Regions from separate parts of the Homo sapiens genome. Here region 1 is linked to region 2. Evidence: promoter capture Hi-C in 16 types of primary human blood cells and fetal thymus (Javierre and others, 2016). All regions are on one chromosome and are shown on one strand. Each heading gives the region's core, a stretch centred on a gene start or on the middle of the fragment in contact. The rest is flanking DNA. Distances are from core to core; before and after follow the strand shown. Region 1 has its middle 320 kb from the start of LINC01911. Region 2 holds the start of LINC01412 (long intergenic non-protein coding RNA 1412).

Region 1 (2,768 bases), core at 258-2,757, 2.0 Mb before region 2:
ATTGTATCATTTATGTGTTTAGGGGAAAATTGAACATTCATTTAAAAACTTGTATTTTTTTTCAGAACCTGCTGATTTTACAAATATGGCAGCTATGCCTCAGCAAATTATAAGCAATAATGAATTAGTTAATTTTCTTCTGTGAAAACTGCTATGGTAAGATTATTAAATTACTGTATTTCTACTTAGTGAAAGTAGCTACCAGTCAGTAAATTAGGATTTCTAAGACTCTTTGGGGAAAGAGATTATTACTATTATCCATGTTTATCATTATTTTGGCCCTAACAGAATTAAAATGTTTATAGTACCTGTTAAAATGTGATATTTTGTTCTCAAATGTATAGTTTGATAAGAAAATGGCCTTATTGAATAGGATCTCAGTGAAGATTAGAAAACAATTTTACTCTTATGGAATATTCTAGGAACTTAGCTGGTTTGATTACTTTGAAGGACTGATTCAATTGAACAACAGTATTATTTTCCAGCAAGCAGAACCTACTATAAGTTGAATGAAATTATGTTATTTTCCACTTTTACAGTTGTATCTAAAATGAACAAAAGCTAAACGCTGCAGGACATTTTTATTTACAAAAACTAAAGAATTGAAGAGCAAATATACAATCTCATGCATTGTGCATGTTTAGTCCCAGGAAAGGTTCACAGTTAAGAAGAGCCTGTGTGAAGTCAATGCTGGTGCCTGTGACGGGTGTGGGAATGGGAAATTTTACTCTCTCCATTGCCTCATTACTTAGGCAGTCACAGCCAAAAAGGGACACGTTTTACATCAGTTTATAGGTGAGCATGTCCCTATTACAAATAATGCATGCAGGAACTTTTTTTTTTCACAGACACTTTGAAAGAAAAAGATATGATTTAGATGTTAAAATGAAGTTTAATTCACATTCCATCTACTTTGAAAAGAAAATGATGTTGAAAATATTTAAATAATACCCATTGTCTTCTGTGGTAAAATCCTCTTAGCTGATTTTCAGTTATTTGAATTTATGTTCCGATGTCCAAAAGAAAGTTTCTTGCTTTTCTTCTAATAGTTTGATTGAGGAACCCATCTGCTGTTAACTACATGTGACTAGGTTTAGATTTAATATAGAAGTGAATTTCAGGGAAAATAAAGTACAAAGTAGAAAAAAAATTACAGTCAGGCAATACATTGTTTGTTAAACCACAAAACTGATTTCTACCTGTTTGCCTCATTTATTTTTCCATAAAAATGAAACATTCCTTAACTTTTATACTAATATTTTATTTTTACTGTTTGAATAATTAGTATATTTTCTCTCAAAGGAGTGCTGTAATCCAGGTTAGCCTTGTAAAAGATGTTAGCAAGTGATATTTCACAGACAGAACTTGGGGAAAAAGAGAGGGTTTTTAATACTGAATATAACTAGAACATCTTTCAGGTCTCCAAATTAGTGTTTAACAAACTTTAATGTACATGCTAATCACCTGAGGGTTTGTTAAAATACAGATTCTAACTCAGAAGATGCAGGATTATTTTGCATTTCTAACAAGCTCCCAGGTAATGCTGTTGTTGCCGTCTGTGGACCACACTTTGAATAGCGAGACTCATCATTTTCTTTAATACTGCTAAGGTTCTCTGGTTTGAAATTAGAATTGAAAGCAAAAGAAAAGAGTTTAGAGTAAAGTAATGGTGTCAATCTTGGAAACCTGAGATGCCACTATATTTGTTCTTGCCCATCCTGAGCTGTGTTAGATGCTCAACACTGACCCTGTACAGAAACAGTGTAATTCATTCTGCAGGCAGGGCCAGAATTTAATGTCCTGAGTCTCAGTTTCATTATCTGTAAAATGAAAATATAATACCTACCTCCTAGGTTTGTAGTTTGCTTAATTTTTATCATTTCTCATTTGCTTGGCATTGATCACTGAGCTCCTAGAATTTTGATATACCTTATTTAGCATCAGGATGTTTGCATATGGCATACTCTAGTGAGTACCAGCTGTCATTACTACAATTATTACCAGCAAGTTGGGATATTGGGCCATCAGTAGTTGAGTGTAGATGGAATATATTGTTTGTGAGATGATAAGATGAACGAGAAAGCTAGAAAGAAAGACAGGGAATACTTCTAGCAACACTATTCACAACAGTGGAGACACGGAATCAACCTAAATGCCAATTAATGATAGAATGGATAAAGAAAATGTGGTACATATATACCATGGAATACTATGCAGCCATTGAAAAGAAGGTTAGCCTCAGTATGTGTTGTTCCCATCTATGTGTCCATGTGATCTCATTATTTAGCTCCCACTTATAAGTGAGAACATGCGGTATTTGGTTTTCTGTTCCTGTATTAGTTTGTTAAGGATAATGGCCTCTAGTTCCATCCATGTCCCCGCAAAGGAAACAATCTTCTTCTTTTTAAGAAGGTTGGGAGGAGTGAGAGGATCAGGAAAAATAACTAATGAGTAATAGGCTTAATACTAGGATGGTGAAATAATCTGTACGACAAATCCCCATGACACATGGTCACCTCTAACCAACCTGTACATTCACCCCTGAACTAAAAATGTTTAAAAAAAGGGGAGGCCAGGTGCTGCGGCTCATGCCTGTAATCTCCAAACTTTGAGAGGCTAAGGTTATGGATCTCTTGTGCCCAGGAGCAGGAGTTTGAGATAAGCCTGGACATCAAGGCAAAATCCCGTATCTACCAAAAATACAAAAATTAGTCCGGTGTGGTGGTGTGTGCCTGTAGTCCCAGCTACTCAGGAGGCTAAGGTGGGGG
Region 2 (3,138 bases), core at 314-2,813:
GGCTGTGAAAGTTGAGGAAATTGACAGACTGAGAGGTGAATGGGGGGACAGGCACCAGGTCCTGGCTGGAGGGAATTGGAAAACAAAAGTGCATCCTTCTCACCCTGCCTGGGTGGAGGGAATCCTGAGGGAGGTAGTTTGTTTTGCCCATGGAAACCCCAAAGAATTATTTTTCCCCCTTCAATGTTGATTGCAATATTATTTCACATTTCCGTGTATCTGTTGTTTTAATCTCTTTCGTCTGCGCTAATCTCGAAGTGGATTATTAATGGGGAAGACAGAGAAGGAGAGATTCATTTGCAGGACTTATTTTGCTGTGTGAGGAGCCGAAAGCCAGCAGCCCCCAGTCCTCTCTCGACTTTTCTCTGCGTCCTGTGCTCCTGCATCCTCCTGATCCCACGATCCCCATTGTCCCCGAACTGGCCCTCGGACTGAGGGAGTGTTCGGAACAAATTTATATTCCGGCTTCCTCCCGACCCCATCACCTCTGCCACGTTGGGAACTCTCTCGGCCAAATGCCTGGGGAGGGGCGTGCCAGTCAGGAACCAGGGGCAAGGCAACCTAGCCGCAGCGCTCACCCCTCGCGGAGACCCTTCCCGTGCCACCATCCAAATATCTACCTTCATGGGAACCTGGAAGACTGCTTTTTCACCCCAAATCAAATACTGGCTAGTCGGAACTCCCAGTGATAAATGTTGGGGACTGCCTCCTGCCACTTGAGCAATTCCTGAGTCCAGGGTAATCAGATGATTAGGTGTTTTTAATGGAAATACTTAGGGTTTTTTTTTTTTTTTTTAAGTCAGATCCTAAGTAACCTGACATTTAATATACATAATAAAGACAAGTGTTTTGTTAGCTATTCGATTGGATCCTTTGACCTGAGGTTATGCTTGTGTGTGTGTCTGGTCTGTAAGCCTCCAATGGCTACCTGGGTGCCTGAAGAGGAGTCTTGCCTGTAATAACTCTATGCAAAGGGCTCCTTCTTCCTTAGGAGTGGTGGAAGGGTGGCTGTAAAGCAAACGTCTAGAGAAAGCTGGATTCCAATCTTTTAAATTAAAAAAGAGGAAAAAAAGGAAGAGGAAGAAAAATGGACATGAACAGTGGTGCTAAATCTCAGAAGAGGAACTTGATAAGTCACACATATATTTAGTATAGATATATAATAATGAAAGAAATGTAAAATATAAAATTAAGAATGTGCCTGACCCATGTTGAAAATCTTTGATTTTATTTATTAATAATTTTTAAGCTGAAGATCCTGAATGCCTTTCTTCTATAGACACTTTATCTGTGATGGGGTGGGGGGAGAGAGTTAATTTATCCAGCAGCTATTTTCATTATAATAAATACTTAAATTAGGAAAGAGGTGAGTAACCAACTGTGAAAATCTACTTTCTTGCATCCTAGAACAAGATCTAGCTGTGGTCGTGCTAGGTAGCTATTAACCACCCCCACCCCACTCCCCCGCCCCGCAAAAAAAAATACAAAATACAAAGACGTATACCTCTGGGAGTGTGGATGTGGCAACCCATGTGGTGGCTTGTCCCTCCTTTGAGTGCAATTGCCAGTGACTCTTGCATTCAAAGTCTTGCTTTAGGCACACATTCAAAGCACAGTTCAAAGCAGTTTATCTTAATATAGTGTTGGATCAGGGTATTATTTGTTTCAGATTTCATCAGACTGGAAACAGGAGGGTGTAACATATTTAACAATATTAAAGCTTAAAAATTGGTGTGAGGCAGCTCTCTGGTCCTCTTAACACCTCCACCTTTACCTTTCCGAAGAATCCTAAATGCTGTGAGGCTAGAAGTTTATTTGTGCTCTGAGGTTCTCAAGCACTTTCACTCTTTAGGAAAAAAAAAAAAGTCTCACAGTTATTTAAGAAATTGAGCCTGAACCATCCGAGGATAGGAGATTTCTTCCTTTTCCGATAAATGCCTGTGCTCAGCATCCTCAAATTTGGCTGTCTTTATTTACTTCTATATTAGTTCCAATTATGTGCAGTGTAAACCAGCTTTTTGATTAACAAAACAGCAGAGCATTGGTTAAGAACACTTAAACTTCAAAAAAATTCCCCTGGGAAGTGGGCTCTGAATTGGTTAATAATGTGCAGTACTTGCTAAATTGCTGACTTCCAGATGTGGAAAATATCTTTCTTGTTTAGGACCTATGTAACCTGATTGGATTACGACAGAAGCGTCACGTTGGAAGCTTTTGAGTGATTATTTAATTAACCATACAGTAGAAAGCTGTATTCTCCAGGAAATCCCTTCCATATTTGCATAACCAATCCCTTCAGAGCAAAGGTGGAGTCTTTTCTTTTTAATCTTACTTTAATTGTAATATCAAAAAATATATACTCCAAAACTTAGACCCCATGCCGTTTAATATCATGCTCTCCCTTCCCTGCTAAGTTTCTCTATGGCCTTTCTCGTTTCTCCTCCTGCCTCCCTACACACTCTCCCTTACTTTGTAGTGAGGTCTCCCCGAGGTGTAGAGAGATTCAGAGATCGGCCAACCGAGTGTTCTATTTTAATTTACTTAGAGACCCTTTATTAAAATGCCAAACTACTTTTTAATATTGGGATCCAGTCCAGAAATTCATCATGCACACACCCTAATACACATGCCCTAAGATGCAGCTCCCATGCAGCATTTTTTTTTCTGGCTCTGGTACCTAAAAAGAAAAAAATAACAATAAGAGAAAGGGCAGAGAACTTTGTTCCAGAAGCTGTACTGAGATACCTACACAATTTGATGTGCATCTCAAATCTGGTCATTAGAGATATCTGTATAAGAAGAGACTATCTGGATTGAGGACCCGGGATCTTTCCCTTTAACTTTCGCCCCTTGGAGTTCTCCAGTTCTGTGAATGGTGTGCACCGTTTTCCGCCCTGTACTCTGTAGGATTTAGTGATGAGGATAATGATGCCAAAGGCTTGACGGGCGGGGAGGGGGGGGTGGAGGGGGGGAGAAGGGAGGGAGGGGGGAGGGAGGCGAAGGCGAAAGGGAGGGAGAGGAGGAAGGGAGGGAGGTGGAATTTCATTTCTTCCACTAAAGCGTTTGCGGAGACTTCAAGGTATAATCTATCCCAGATCCTTTCCCAGAGAGAAACTTGGCGATCACGTTTTCACATGA

Evidence for each region. Contacts are between HindIII fragments. The CHiCAGO score rates a contact against its expected background, and 5 or more counts as called.
Region 1: a fragment that was not itself captured here is called in contact with the fragment with the promoter of LINC01412 in region 2 in 1 of 17 cell types (megakaryocytes); the score reaches 5.1 in megakaryocytes.

Annotation. Positions count from the first base shown.
Region 1 is chr2:146,520,638-146,523,405 of GRCh38, reverse strand. No RefSeq gene overlaps it. Among named protein-coding and RNA genes, the nearest start is that of LINC01911, 320 kb to the left of the region's middle. The HindIII fragment of the contact is 3,849 bases long and covers 1-2,768 here.
Region 2 is chr2:144,520,293-144,523,430 of GRCh38, reverse strand. It overlaps LINC01412 (long intergenic non-protein coding RNA 1412), which reads right to left and starts at 1,563. Exons shown (of 3, transcript NR_110570.1): 1 at 1,505-1,563. ZEB2-AS1 (ZEB2 antisense RNA 1) reads right to left here. Exons shown (of 4, transcript NR_040248.2): 4 at 2,532-2,677. The HindIII fragment of the contact is 4,746 bases long and covers 1-1,722 here.